Linked DNA regions of Homo sapiens: all the other regions are linked to region 3. Evidence: promoter capture Hi-C in 16 types of primary human blood cells and fetal thymus (Javierre and others, 2016). All regions are on one chromosome and are shown on one strand. Each heading gives the region's core, a stretch centred on a gene start or on the middle of the fragment in contact. The rest is flanking DNA. Distances are from core to core; before and after follow the strand shown.

Evidence for each region. The method cuts DNA at HindIII sites, captures the fragments that hold promoters and counts their contacts. A CHiCAGO score of 5 or more calls a contact.
Region 1: a fragment that was not itself captured here is called in contact with the fragment with the promoter of EDN2 in region 3 in 1 of 17 cell types (neutrophils); the score reaches 6.4 in neutrophils.
Region 2: a contact is called between a fragment that was not itself captured here and the fragment with the promoter of EDN2 in region 3, in 1 of 17 cell types (neutrophils). The highest score is 5.1, in neutrophils.
Region 4: a fragment that was not itself captured here is called in contact with the fragment with the promoter of EDN2 in region 3 in 7 of 17 cell types (M2 macrophages, naive B cells, neutrophils and 4 more); the score reaches 6.7 in M2 macrophages.
Region 5: a fragment that was not itself captured here is called in contact with the fragment with the promoter of EDN2 in region 3 in 1 of 17 cell types (naive B cells); the score reaches 5.1 in naive B cells.

Annotation. Positions count from the first base shown.
Region 1 is chr1:42,168,967-42,171,666 of GRCh38, reverse strand. No RefSeq gene overlaps it. Among named protein-coding and RNA genes, the nearest start is that of GUCA2A, 5.6 kb to the right of the region's middle. The HindIII fragment of the contact is 3,327 bases long and covers 1-2,700 here.
Region 2 is chr1:42,074,848-42,077,641 of GRCh38, reverse strand. No RefSeq gene overlaps it. Among named protein-coding and RNA genes, the nearest start is that of GUCA2B, 77 kb to the left of the region's middle. The HindIII fragment of the contact is 7,081 bases long and covers 1-2,794 here.
Region 3 is chr1:41,483,336-41,486,035 of GRCh38, reverse strand. EDN2 (endothelin 2) reads left to right here and starts at 1,353. Exons shown (of 5, transcript NM_001956.5): 1 at 1,353-1,498; 2 at 1,833-1,989. The coding sequence starts at 1,435. RefSeq lists an enhancer at 1-246. The HindIII fragment of the contact is 6,202 bases long and covers 1-2,700 here.
Region 4 is chr1:42,117,243-42,119,942 of GRCh38, reverse strand. No RefSeq gene overlaps it. Among named protein-coding and RNA genes, the nearest start is that of GUCA2B, 35 kb to the left of the region's middle. The HindIII fragment of the contact is 6,007 bases long and covers 1-2,700 here.
Region 5 is chr1:42,099,533-42,102,232 of GRCh38, reverse strand. No RefSeq gene overlaps it. Among named protein-coding and RNA genes, the nearest start is that of GUCA2B, 53 kb to the left of the region's middle. The HindIII fragment of the contact is 639 bases long and covers 983-1,621 here.

The sequences.
Region 1 (2,700 bases), core at 51-2,550, 690 kb before region 3:
AATCCACCCCCTGCCCTTCTGGGGCACTGCCAGGGGTGGAACACAGACCTCTCCTGGACCCATGCAGCAGCCATCGCTAGACAGTCCACTTTTAACGCCAAGTGCCAGGGCACTCCTTCTGAATCATGACTCTTACCAAGGCCTCCCCTACTCTGAAAACTCTTGTAGCTCCCTGCTGTCACCAGGTGAAGGGCAAAACTCCTCAGCCCAGTGTGTGAAGCCGCCTTCTCTGGGCTGCTGGCCCATGAGTCCTTGAGACACCCTCTGCTTTCACCTCAGCCGCCCCCGCTTTGCCATTTATGCTTCCTGCTGCCAGGCCTTTGCCTCGCGGCTCTCCCCTCGATGGGTCCAAATCTTCCCATTGATCAAGACCTGTTGCAAATGCCACCTTGTCAGGTAAAGCATTCTCTGATCTGGTGCCAGGAGGACTGGTAGCCTCGGCTTGTTCCTCCCTCATCCCAGGGAGTCTGTACCCATGCCCTACCCTCCCTGTAGCCTGTGGGCTCTGCGAGCGTCTTCTATGGGGGCAGGTGGAGGGAGCTCCAGCTGTGCTCTCCTTCCCTGTCAGCCTTTGGGTGTGGGAGGTTGTCTTGGTGGCCAATGCCCAAAGCAGGCTGGGGGATGCGGGAGAAGGCTGCAGCTGCTGTCCCACTGAGGGGGAGCAGATGGTGAACGGAGTTTCTTCACCGCCTCTTCCTGGTGAGGCCACAGGGCCCTGAGATGACATCGCTGAGCAAACAGCCAGGCACGCCCCCTGCCCACTCCCCAGCTGCCCCCTGGAGCATCAAGGGAAAGAGCCGGGCCACCCAGGGCCTGGGGGTGGGGGAGAGATCCCTCCACCCTAGCCTGGACTTGGGCTTCAGCCAAAAGGCTTCCAATTCCAACTCAGCCATCCACTTTCTGTGTGACATTGAGCACTCTTTCTGAGAGCCTCAGTTTCATCCTCTAAGATGGACATCATTGACCTACCTCACAGGGTCTGACTCAGTGGCGACTCCTTTCTTTTTCCTTTTCCCTAGAAGGGGGCAAAAATGGGTGTTTGGGACCAGGAAGACAGTGCAGAGGAATGGGATGGACTCAATAGAACTTTAGGCTTTTCTTTGGCAGTTGAAAGAAATGGATTCTGTTCTGGGATTTCTAGCTACGTGACCACAGTTGCCACCCAGTCCACCTGGCAATGAGTCTGAAGTATTGTGCTTTCCTCTAGGCTGAGGTAGTCGCATGCTTGTGTCCACACTTATGCTCTCTGTTGGTCGGGTACCCTTGTGCAGTGCACAACCAATACAACTGTACACAGCATCCCTGTATGCACCTTTGGGAAAATTATACTTTCTTAACCTCTCTGAGCTTCAGTTTACCCATGTATAAAATAGGGTTATGTAGTTATTTCTTAGGTGTTTCCAGTGCTGTCAGGAGGTTCACATATATTGTAATGTCTGCCTCAGGCAGTTCTGGATTCTTATAGGAACCAGAGATTGTTACACCCTCCAAGACACATTTACAAGCAGGTTGGAGAGGCTGTGTATTGTGGACCACACCCCTTTCAAGGTTACACAGATCTGTATTGGAGTCTTCAGGTTCCCACCTGGGCTCTGTTCCAGGCCTTCCTGCTGAGGTCCGATTAGGCCTCTGGGCCTGTGGGAATGGGGGGACTGAGGCTTAATGGTCCCAATTTTAATGTGCACACAGGAGCCATGATAAGATCACCTAGACACAAGAATCAAACATCAGCATCTTCACAGAGACTGGAGGGCTGCCCCAACAGCAGGGCAGAACCTCTGCAGCTTCTGGAAGTGGGTGAGGGGTGGCGGGGCTTTAGGGAGCAAGACTGGCTTCCACACTTGTAAAGCACTTGGCCAGAGCCTGGCACAGGGTGAGTCTTGACAAATATTAGCTGCTGTCATTAATGTGATGATCATTGCAAACATTACAACCTGCCTCATTCTTTAAAGACTCAGTGGTACCTACTAAGTGCCAGGCCTTGTATGAGTACAGGGCCTCAGTTGAGTAGGACACAGTCTCTGCTTTCAAGCAGCTCCCAGGGCAGTAGGCTAGACAGACAATTTGCTAAGTTTTGTGATGGCAAAGGTGTAGGAGGCTGGTGGAGCTCAGAGGAGTAGAAATGGTCTTAACTCGGGCTTGCCAGGGCTGGGGTCAGTTAGGAGAGTCTTCCAGAAAAACTGAAATTTGCAATCTAGCTGTTATTGTCTCCATTTTTTAAAGCAGAAACTGAGGCTCAGAAAGGTCATGGAGCATTTTTCCTCGCTCTGTCGCCCAGGCTGGAGTGTGGTGGTGCGATCTCGGCTCACTGCAACCTCTGCCTCATGGGTTCAAACAATTCTCCTGCCTCAGCCTCCCGAGTAGCTGGAACTACATGCATGTATCACCATACCCAGCTAATTTTTGTATTTTTAGTAGAGACGGGGTTTCACTATGTTGGCCAGGCTGGTCTTGAACTCCTGACCTCGTGATCCACCCGCCTCTGCCTCCCAAAGTGCTGGGATTACAGGCATGAGCCATCGCAAGCCTGGCCGGTGACACTGGATTCTAATACAGGGTTGCCTGGCTCCGAAGCCTGAGCCCTTGAAGCCACAGCACCCCAGGTTTAAGTCCCTCCTTCTGGGTCCACTCCAGGGAGTCCTTTGGGATCCTGGTTGAATGGAGAGCTCAGCAGGGGCCTGATCACAAAAACCCTGAATG
Region 2 (2,794 bases), core at 81-2,580, 590 kb before region 3:
AAGGAGCATGCTCCTGAATGACCACTGGGTCAATTTAAACATTAAGAAGAAAATTAAAAAATTTCTTGAAACAAATTAAAATGGAAATGCAACATACCCAAACCTATAGAATACAGCAAAAGCAGTGGTGAGGGATGTTTATAGCAATACATGTCTACATCAAAAAAGTAGAAAGATTTCAAATAAACAATCTAATGATGCACCTTAGGGAACTAGAAAAGGAAGGACAAACCAAAACCCCAAACTAGCATGAGAAAAGAAATAATAAATGTTAGAGCAGAATTAAACAAAATAGAGACTGAAAAAACAGTACAAAGGATCAATGAAACAAAAAAAATTGCTGTTTTGAACGGATAAGCAAAATTGATAAACTGCTAACCAAGGAAAGAAGACAGAAGACCCAAATAAACAAAATCAGACATGAAAAAGGAGATATTACAACTGGTATCATAGACATGTAAAAGATCATCAGACACTATTTTAAACAATTATATACTAACATAATGGAAAACCTAGATGAAATGAATAAATTCCTGGACACATACAACCTACCAAGATTGAATCAGGAAGAAATAAAAAACCCAAACAGACCGATAACAAGTAACAAGATTAATCAGTAATAAACATTCTTCCAACAAAGTAAAGTCTAGGACTGCATGGCTTCACTGCTGAATTCCTCCAAACTTATAAAGTAGAAATAACACCAATTCTCCTTAAACTATTCCAAAGCATTAAAGAGAAGGGAATTCTCCCTGACTCATTCTATGAGGCCAGTATCACTCTGATGCTGAAGCCAGACATGGACACACCAAAAGAAAGAAAACTACAGGCCAATATCCCTGATTAACACAGATGCAAAAATCCTCAACAAAACATGAGAAAACCAAATCCACATATCAAAAAGATACTACATTATGATCAAGTGTAATTTATCCCAGGGGTGCAAGGATGGTTCAACACATGCAAATAAATAAATTTGACATACCACATCAACAGAATGAAGAAGAAATACCATATGATCATTTCAACAGATACAGAAAAGCATTTGATAAAATTTCACATCTCTCTATGATAAAAATTCTCAACAAACTAAGCGTAAAAGGAACTTACCTCAACATAATAAAGGCCATACGTGAAAAACCCACAGCTGACATCATACTAAATGGGGAAAAGCTAAAAGAACTGGAGCAAGATAAAAATTCCCACTTTCACCACTTTTATTTAACATACAGCTGGAAGTCCTAGCCCTTCCAAATCGGAAAAGAGGAAGTCAAATTTTCTCTCTTTCAGATGACATGATTTTATATTTAGAAAAACCTAAAGACTTCACCAAAATATTCTTAGATCTGATAAACAACTCAGTAAAGTTTCAGGATACAAAATAAATATACAAAAATCAGTAGCATTTCTATACACCAATTAAAAAAACTATCTGAGAAAGAAACCAAGAAAGCAATCCCATTTATGATTGCTACAGAAAAAATATACCTAGGAACACATTTAACCAAGGGTATGAAAGATCTCTTCAAGGAAGATTCAAAACACCTGATGAAAGAAATTAAAGAGAACACAAACAGATGGAAAGATATCCCATGCTCATGGATCAAAAAGCTAGTAATGTTAAAATGATTGTGCTGCCCAAAGCAATCTACAGATTCAATGCAATTTGTATGAAAACACCAATGACATTTTTCATGGAAATAGAAAAAAACAACTGTAAAATTAGTATGGAACAAAAAGAGATCCAAAGCAATCTTGAGCAAAAGAACAAAGCCAGAGGCATCACCCTGCCTGACTTCAATATATTGCAAGGCTATGATAACCAAAACAGCATGGTATTGGTATAGAAACACACACAGAGACCAATAGAGCAGAATAGAGAACCCAGAAATAAATCCATGTATTTACAGCCAATTGATTTTTGACAAAGACTCCAAGAACATACATTGGAGAAATGACAACCTCTTCCATAAGTAGTGCTGGTAAAACTGGGTATTTATATGCAGAAGAGTGAAACTAGACTCCTGTCTCTCACATGTACAAAAATCAACTCCAGATGGATTAAAGACGTAAATGTAAGACCCCAAACTACATATCTACTAACATGGGGAACACTCCAAGACATTGGGCTAGGCAAAGGTTTTATGGCTGAGACCTCAAAAGCACAGGCAACAAACACCAAAATAGACAAATGGGACTATGTTTTTTGCAGAGGTTTTACCTTTCTGCAAAGGAAACAATCAACAGACTGAAGACAACCTGTTGAATGGGAGAAAATATTCATCCAACAAGGGACTAATATCTAGAATATACAAGGAACTCAAGCAGCTCAACAGCAAAAACACCAAATAGTTCCATTATAAAGTGGGCAAAGGATCTGAACAGACATTTCGCAAAAGAAGACTTGCAAATGGCCAGCAGGAATATGAAAAAAATGCTCAACATCAGTAATCATTAGGGAAATGCAAATCAAAACCACAGTAAAATATCATCTTACCCCAGTTAGAATGGCTATTATCAAAAAGACAGAAATAACAGATGCTGTCAAAGATGCTGAGAAAAGGGAACACTTATTAATTGCTAGTGGAAATGTAAATTAGTACAGCCATCAATATGGAGAGTTCTGAAAAAACTAAAGTAGAAGTACCATATGATTCAGCAATCGTACTACTAGATACTTTTTTAAAAGAGGAAATCATTGTGTCAAAAGGATACCTGCACCCCATGTTTACTGCAACACTATTCACAATAGCAAAAATATGGAATCAGCCTAAGTATCCTTCAGTGGATGAAA
Region 3 (2,700 bases), core at 104-2,603:
AGGAACTGAGCATTGGGCATCCTGGGTTCTGTAAGTGGAAAGCCAGGTGTGCATCTCTTGACCCCCCTGCCCTCAGGAAGCACTCGCAAGGCCCCTACTGTGTGCAGGGTAGGTGTCAGGCCCTGCCTCCTCTGGGGCTCTGGACCTTGAGATTGCAGGGGAGATAAGTGCAATGGGATGAGTCAGGCAGGCACGAGAGGCACAGGCCCTGGGAATTCCAAGAAACGAGAGGGCCTTTCCTGTTGTGCCTGGAGACAGGGTCCCTGAGAAGACTCCAGCAGGAAGTGGACTCTCAGCCAGGGCAGGAACAGAGGGTGCCTGCCGGTTCCCTGAGCTGCTCAGCACAGCTGTGGTTCATCCCTGCTTTCCCCTCCCCGGCAAGGCTTCTGGGCCAGCAGAGGGGCAGGAGCAGAATGCCAGTCCCCAGAGAAGTCCCCTGGCTTACTTCTTTTGCAGACAGTAGCCCCCGGTGGAAGCCAAGACATCCTGTCATGGCCAGGACAGGAGACTGTTCAAGGGGCGCTTTGTGTGTGTGTCCTCAGGGACATCTTTCTGGAAAGGGGTCTGAAGCCACCTTCTTAGTCTCAAAGGAGCCTGTAAGCCAAGCAGGTGAAGTACCTTCTTGTTTTGGCCTTGTTTGCAAACAAGGAAACAGGCCCAGGAAGGATGCCCTTGGCCATGGCTGCATAGCTGAACAGCTTCTGGAAGGGACTAGAACTCCTGCCCCAGGCCCTGGGGTGACAGGGCAGGGGTTGAGGGGGGCATTTCCTGGGTGAGGTGGGGATGAAGCAGTTCCAGGCTGGTCAGAAGTCAGGCATGAGCTGTGTCCTTCACAGAGGGAGGCAGGCCCAGAGAGGGCTCTGACTCGCCCAAGGCCACACAGCCTTGCGTGGGCCTTTCACATCCCACACAACAGAGGGGCATCCTCAGCCTGGTTGGCAGAGGGCAGGCAGGATAGATGGCAGAGTCTTCTCCGAGGAGAGGGGTTTTGCTCATGGAACCTCCTCCTCCACACTCACAGCCCTGGGCGAGACCTGTGGAGCAGCCGCCAACAGAGTGAGGGAGGGGGCTCGGGGCAGCTGGGGGTGACTTGAGGAAGTCCAGCTGGACTGCGAGGGGCCCCTGGGGACTGCCAGGGAGCCTCAGGACTCCCAGAGGTGCTCCAGGCACAGAGGGAGGAATGGGCCTTCCATCTCCCTCCCCCCTTCACTGCAGAGGCTGGGTCGGGCCAGGCGCCCGGGGAGGAGGCGGTGTCCCTGGCTCCCAGCCCGCCGGTGCAGCGGGGCAGGGCTGGACCAGAAGGGGTGGGGCACCGTGCCTGGTATAAGAGGCAGCCAGGGCACCGAGGCAATGAGCTATCTGCTCAGCTTAATAGCAGGACGCTGGCAACAGGCACTCCCTGCTCCAGTCCAGCCTGCGCGCTCCACCGCCGCTATGGTCTCCGTGCCTACCACCTGGTGCTCCGTTGCGCTAGCCCTGCTCGTGGCCCTGCATGAAGGTGAGCTGCCCTGGCCTCACCTGCTGCCTACAGCTCCTGGGTCTGCCTATCTCTGTCTCCCTCTAGGGCTGCAGTGCCTCCCAAGCCAGCTGGGGGCAGACAGGGGCGGGAGCCTGGCGGCAGTGGTGGCAGGGGAAAGGTTCTGCAAATACAGAGGTGCCCAGGCTCCCCACGGGCTGCTGGGACTTCCCTGGGCTGGCCTGGAGCTCTTGAGCAGCAAGAGTGCCAACTCCCTCGATTATGCAAGAGGAGGGGCATGGTGGGTCCCCCACTCTGGGATGTGCCAGGCACCCCAACCCACCTCTCCACCTCTCTCTCCCTCCTGTGCATGCAGGGAAGGGCCAGGCTGCTGCCACCCTGGAGCAGCCAGCGTCCTCATCTCATGCCCAAGGCACCCACCTTCGGCTTCGCCGTTGCTCCTGCAGCTCCTGGCTCGACAAGGAGTGCGTCTACTTCTGCCACTTGGACATCATCTGGGTGAACACTCCTGAGTGAGCATCCATGGGGATTGGGGGCAGGGGGAGCTCTGGGGCAGGGTGTCAGGGTGGAAGCTACTGGCATGCTAGGGAACGTTGACACATTCCATCTCTCCCTGGGCCTCCAGATGGAGGCACTGGCTAATATCAATAGTTAATTGTTTCAATTCCTGAGTGGGGACCACCTGAGCCATAGAGAGGGCTGTCTTCTGAGAATTCTTAAGACAGCCTGGTAAGCAAGTGTTGGCCCCGTTTTCCAGATTCAAGTGCTGAGGCTCAGAGAGCTTAAGCGCCTCCCCCAAGATCACACAGGTAATTGTAAGGGTAGGCACCATCCTCGGTTGGGGAATGCCGGAGCTCACAGTCTCTGTCATGCTGCCTCTGCATGCTCTTCCAATAATAATACGATTAGTGACAGCACCCGTGCTTTGACTATGCCAGGCTCTTTGCCAAGCACTGCACGTGCATGATCATCTCAGGAGCCCCCCCATCCTCCCCATAAGGCAGGATAGTCCCTCAAACGACAGATGAGAACCTGCCCTGTGCTACTGGCTACACCCGGGTGGGAGCCCCGTGCTGTCTGTTCCGCCTGCACCCGCACTGCCTCCAGGCCACTGCATACCTTCAGTTGAAGTTTCTGTGTGTGTTTGTGATTTTTTCCCCTCCCCAAATTGCAAAAGGCAAGAGAAGCCCTGCACGTAAGCGTGTGTGAAGCTAATCCGCATC
Region 4 (2,700 bases), core at 184-2,683, 630 kb before region 3:
AGCAAATATATTTAGTGTTTTAATATGTGTAAGCAAGAAAGAACAAACACAAACATACATGAATAGACCAAGAATCTTGGAAAATGTAAGAATGGTACCAAGAACAAGGACTGTTTGAAGCCATGGGTCAAGCAACTTATCCAGGTAAACAAAAGGTCAGCAATCATTCGGCATCAATGGTCGTCTACAGTACGACCAAATTCAGTTCTAAGATGATAAATTAACCAAGTCTTTCAAACAGCAGAAATCATTGCACAGATTCTATCTCTCTTCTAGCTGTTCTAGCTAATTATAATGAGAGTCTGATGAAGTCTACTTAAAATTTCAATACTACTCACAGAGTGGGTCAATAGATCGCAATGACAGTCAATTAATAAGGTAATTCTGAGCTTGTGAGACTTAAAGAGTATATCATATCTGGGAAAGATACCAAATGTCAAAATTACAAATTTTACATGAAATAAGTCCTATTGATGCAATGAGTGAAACTTTATTATACAAGAAGATTAGGCCAATGAATAGAGGCTCAGGTTTGAGTCTCCTTGCACTGTGCAACCAGGTCCTGTTTCTCAACTGAGAGCTAATAGGTTGACATCCCAGAACTTGCAAACTTAGCTCCTCTGAGATGGTGTTTGTTTCTTCTTCTGAGTCTAGTAAGATGACTACATCCCGAAGAAGGTATAGATGAGCTCTGTTCAAAAGAACCATCTTCAATGGTGGAAATTTTCTTTATCTGTACTGCCCATATGGTAGCTACCAGCTATATGTAGCTATTGAGCACGTGAAATGTGACTGCCGGGGACTGAATTTTAAATTAAACTTAATTAATTTAAATTTAATTAGTTTAATTAATTTAAATAATTTAAATGGCTATTGGCTACTGCATTATGCAGAGGAGGTATATATCAGAGCTGGTAAAATTACTACAATTCTAGGAGGTAACCCCCCAGAACAGGGAAAAAACAAGAATAACAATAGGTAAAAGATAAAAATAGAGATGACCGAGAAATAAATTTAAGTCAGGGGCATTAGTATTTCTGTAAATAGTTTTAATATAATAGTAATAATCACACTTTAAACAATTGTGATATTTTGGGGGTGTTTAAGGTATTTAGGAGAATCTGATATGAGAGTTATGATCCTGAACACCTCAGAAGACTAAGTTAGTAGTCAGTTTTTGAGTGCTTGTGGAAACCTAATTTACTAAATCCATCAGTTATGATTTGTATTTTGTATGCATTTTGGGTGACTGAGAAGAATGTTAATGATTTCAGGTTTAAAATGATGCTAGCTTAGTAGAATTATAATATCAATAACCTGAATATTTAACAAAGTTCAGGGAGTAGTCAGTGTTCCTCTTCATGAACAATAGGCCCCTGGGTACACTTTTTCCTCTGGATTTTCCTACACTGGCTCTTTGCAGTTTGTTTCTAAATATAAATATGCTTTGCTTTAAGAAAATGCAGTGTGTGGCTTTGTGCCTTTATGACCCTGAACAGTTATATTCATGAGTTATACAATTCTTCTGGAAAGTCCACTGTTTCTAAAGAGACAATATCCTTTTATTCTGTCCTTCACAAGTGAGTGAAGTGTGCCCTGGTGGACTACCCAGCCTTGTCCACATGGAACTCATCCTGCCAGTAAGCTCTGCTGAATTCCCATTTGCTGACATCAAGACCGCAGCTTCTCAAGCACTTTTTAACTGGTAGGTTGAAGGAGAGCTTAGAAGTGGGGACACTAGAGCCAGACTGAGTTGGATTCAGTACCAGCTCTACCATTAAATCTGTGTGACCTAAAGCAGATGATTCTGTGCTTGGTGATGATGATACAAATAGCTACTTGGGTTTTGTTAGGATTAAATAAACTAGTTAATGTAAAGTACTTGGCATTATTATTAATTTCTCGATAAATACTCAAATTCACTGTTCTCAGTAAATCAGCTCAAATCGCCCCTCCACCTACAAGGCTAGTACTTGTGGCTCTTATTGTCTGACTTATCCAAAATGACATAGCAGTTTTCACTCTACCCTTGTCCCTCACCCCTTTCAATTCTGCTGTTCTTTTTGCAAATTACTTTATTGGGATGTTTTCTAAGCCCACTGTTCTCCAGTTTCAGTGAGTGGGGCTTTTCCCTCGTCCGTCCCCAGTCTGCTCTCCTCTTTCATGCCTCTTCATCTGTCTCCAAACTCCAGCACCTGCTCTGTGAGCTTACTCTCAGAGAAAACAGAAGCTGTCAGAAGAGAGTTTCTGCGACCTCCCTGCGCCACCGGCAGCACCTTCCAGCATCTGTACCTGCCGCTCTGCCATTCCTTTCCTTCCCGTGGATGAAGCATTTGTGTTCCCATCTATGACCAAGTTGACCATGGGTGCAATGGAGCGCAGCCTCCTCATGCATTTGAATGCTCCCGGCTCCTTTGTTGATCTCCCCTCTCTCCTGCATCCATTGTCAATTGTGTCTACTCCATCCTTCCCATCATCATGCAAACATGCCGAAACGTCTCTCTTCCTTTCTTCCCTTTGCATCAGAACTCATTGAGGAATTGCGTAACATATTGTCTCCATTTCCTCTTCTCCCCTGATCCCCTGAACCCTCTCTGCCCCTTCAAAGACATTGATTTCACCAAGATCATCAGGGACCTCCACATATTCATATCCAGAGGTCAATTCTTGGTCCTCATCTTACTTGACCTTTTAGTATGA
Region 5 (2,700 bases), core at 53-2,552, 620 kb before region 3:
TATACATGACTGTGAGCTCTTTATCAGCTCTCTTTTGTAAATACCTCCCACTCCATGGCTTCTCATTCCCTTAATGGCATGTTTTGAAGAAAGAAAGTTATTCATTTTAGCATAGTCCAATTTATCAATCTTTTGGTCATAAAGATCTTGTCCTATGTCATTTTCTAAGAAGGCGTTCTTCTCCCTATTGGGTGGTATTGGCAGCTTTGTCTTAAATCTAGCATCCATATGTGCACGAATTTGTTTATAGATAGTTTATGTTTGGTCTATTTGTCTATGTTTATTTTCCAATGCCACACTGTCCTATTTCCTGTACCTTTATAATAAGTTTCATTATCTGATAGCATACATCCTTTAGCTCTGCTCTTCTTTCTCTTCAAAATTGCCTTGACTCTTTGCATTTCAATAAAAATTTAGAGTCTGCCTGTCAATTTCCACAAAAATCAAAACCATCTGGGGATTTTATTGGGATCATTTTGAATCTATAGAGGGAGAGTGAACATCTTAACAATATTGTCTAATCATGAATATATTATATTTCTCCATTTATTTATTCAGTCTTTAACATATTTCAACAATATTTTTGAGTTTTTGGGTTGAGGTCTTACACATCTATTTTGAATCGAATTCTAGGTTGATTTGTTTTGTGATGCTATTGTAAATAGTATTTTTCTTAACTTTTTTTTTTTTTTAAATTATACTTTAAGTTTTAGGGTACATGTGCACAACGTGCAGGTTTGTTACATATATATACATGTGCCATGTTGGTGTGCTGCACCCATTAACTCGTCATTTAACATTTTATTTTCTAAAGGCTTGTTGCTGGTATATATAAATAAAATTTAAAAAACATATTGATTTTGTATGCACTGGCCTTGCTAAATTCACTATTTTTCTCTATCATTCAGTCATTTAATGACTTTATTTTAATTGTGGTAAAATACATATAACACGCAATATACTATCTTAACTACTTTAAGCTTAACTATCTTTAAGCGTGCAGTTTAGTGGCAGTAAGCACATTCCCATTGTTGTATCTTCACCACCATTCATCCACAGAACTCTTTTTGTCTTGTAAAACTGAAATTATGTACCTATTAAACTCATTTATTCATTTTGAACTGAGACATAATTCACATACCATAAAATTTACCCTTTATAAGTGTACAATTCAGTGGTTTTTTTTTTAAACCACTGATATTTGTTTTTTTCCAATTTGGGCTGAATGGAGAAAACTTTGTGAATGGTTTCACAAAGTTATGCAACCATTATCTAATTCCAGAGATGTTCAACTCTCCAAAAATAAACCCGTTCTCATTAGCAGTCACTCCCAATTCCCCTCTCCCCTCCTCCCTTCTTTATTTTTATCCTGTTTATCTTTGTATCTGTTCTTACACCAGCACTGCACTGTCTTGGCTCATTTGAAATTGAGAAGCGTGAGTCCTCTGAACTTGCTTTTCTTTTTCAAGATTGTTTTGGTTATTCTGCAGCCCTTATATTTCCATATAAATTTAGGATCAGTTTTCAATGTCTTCAAAAAAGACAACTGGAATTTGGTAGAGATTGCATTGAATCTGTAGATCAATTTGGGAAATATTGCCATCTTAATAATATTAAAGCTTCCCATCCTGTAACATGGGATGCCATTCCATTTATTTAGATCTTTAATTTCTTTCAATGATCTTTTGTAACTTTTATCATATAAATATTATACTTCTTTTACTGAATTTATTTCTAATTGTTTTATTCATTCTGATGTAATTATAAATAGATTTGTTTTCTTAATTTCCTTTTTGGATTTTTTTGTTGCTGATGTGTGGAAATAAAGTTAATTTCACTATATTGATCTTGTGTCCTGCAACCTTGCTGAATTTGTTTTTTAGCTCTATTTGCTTTTTAGTGGCTTCCTTAAAATTTTCTGTCTATAGAATAACGTCATCTATGAATACAGAGAGTTTTATGTCTTTTCCAATGTGAATTTAAAAAATTTCTTTCCATTGACTATTGCCATAGTTAGAATCTCCAGTGAAATGTTGAGTAGAAGTGGTGACAGTGGACATCCTATGTCTTGTTTTTGATCTCAGGAGGATAACTTACAGTCTTTTGCTATTAAGTATGATGTTAGTTGTGGGTTTTCGTAGTCAACTTTTTTCAGGTTGAGGAAGTTCCCTTCTATTCTTAGTTTGCTTAGTGTTTTTTTAATCATGAAAAGGTGTTGAGTTTTGTCAATGCTTTTTCTGCATCTATTGAGATGATCATGAGGTTTTTATCCTTTATTCCATTAATATGGTGCATGACATTGATTGATTTTTATATGTTGGGCCAACTATCATTCCTGTAATAAATCCCACTTGATCTTGTGTATAATCCTGTTATGTAATATTTTGTGGATTTGGTTTGTTAGTGTTTTGTTGAGGATTTTTGTGTCTATATTTATAAGCCATGTTGGTCTGCAGTTTCCTTGTGATGTTTTTATGTGGTTTTCGTGTCAGGGTATAATACTGGCCTCATAGAATGGATTGGAAAGTGTTTCATTCTCTTTTAGTTTTTGGAATAATTTGTGAAAGATTAATATTAATTCTTCTTTAAAAGTTTGGTGTGTTTCACTAGTTAAGGCATTGGGGTTTTCTTTGTGTGAATTACTACTAATTCAATTTCTTTACATGTTATAGGTTTATTCAGATTTTTTATTTCTTCTTG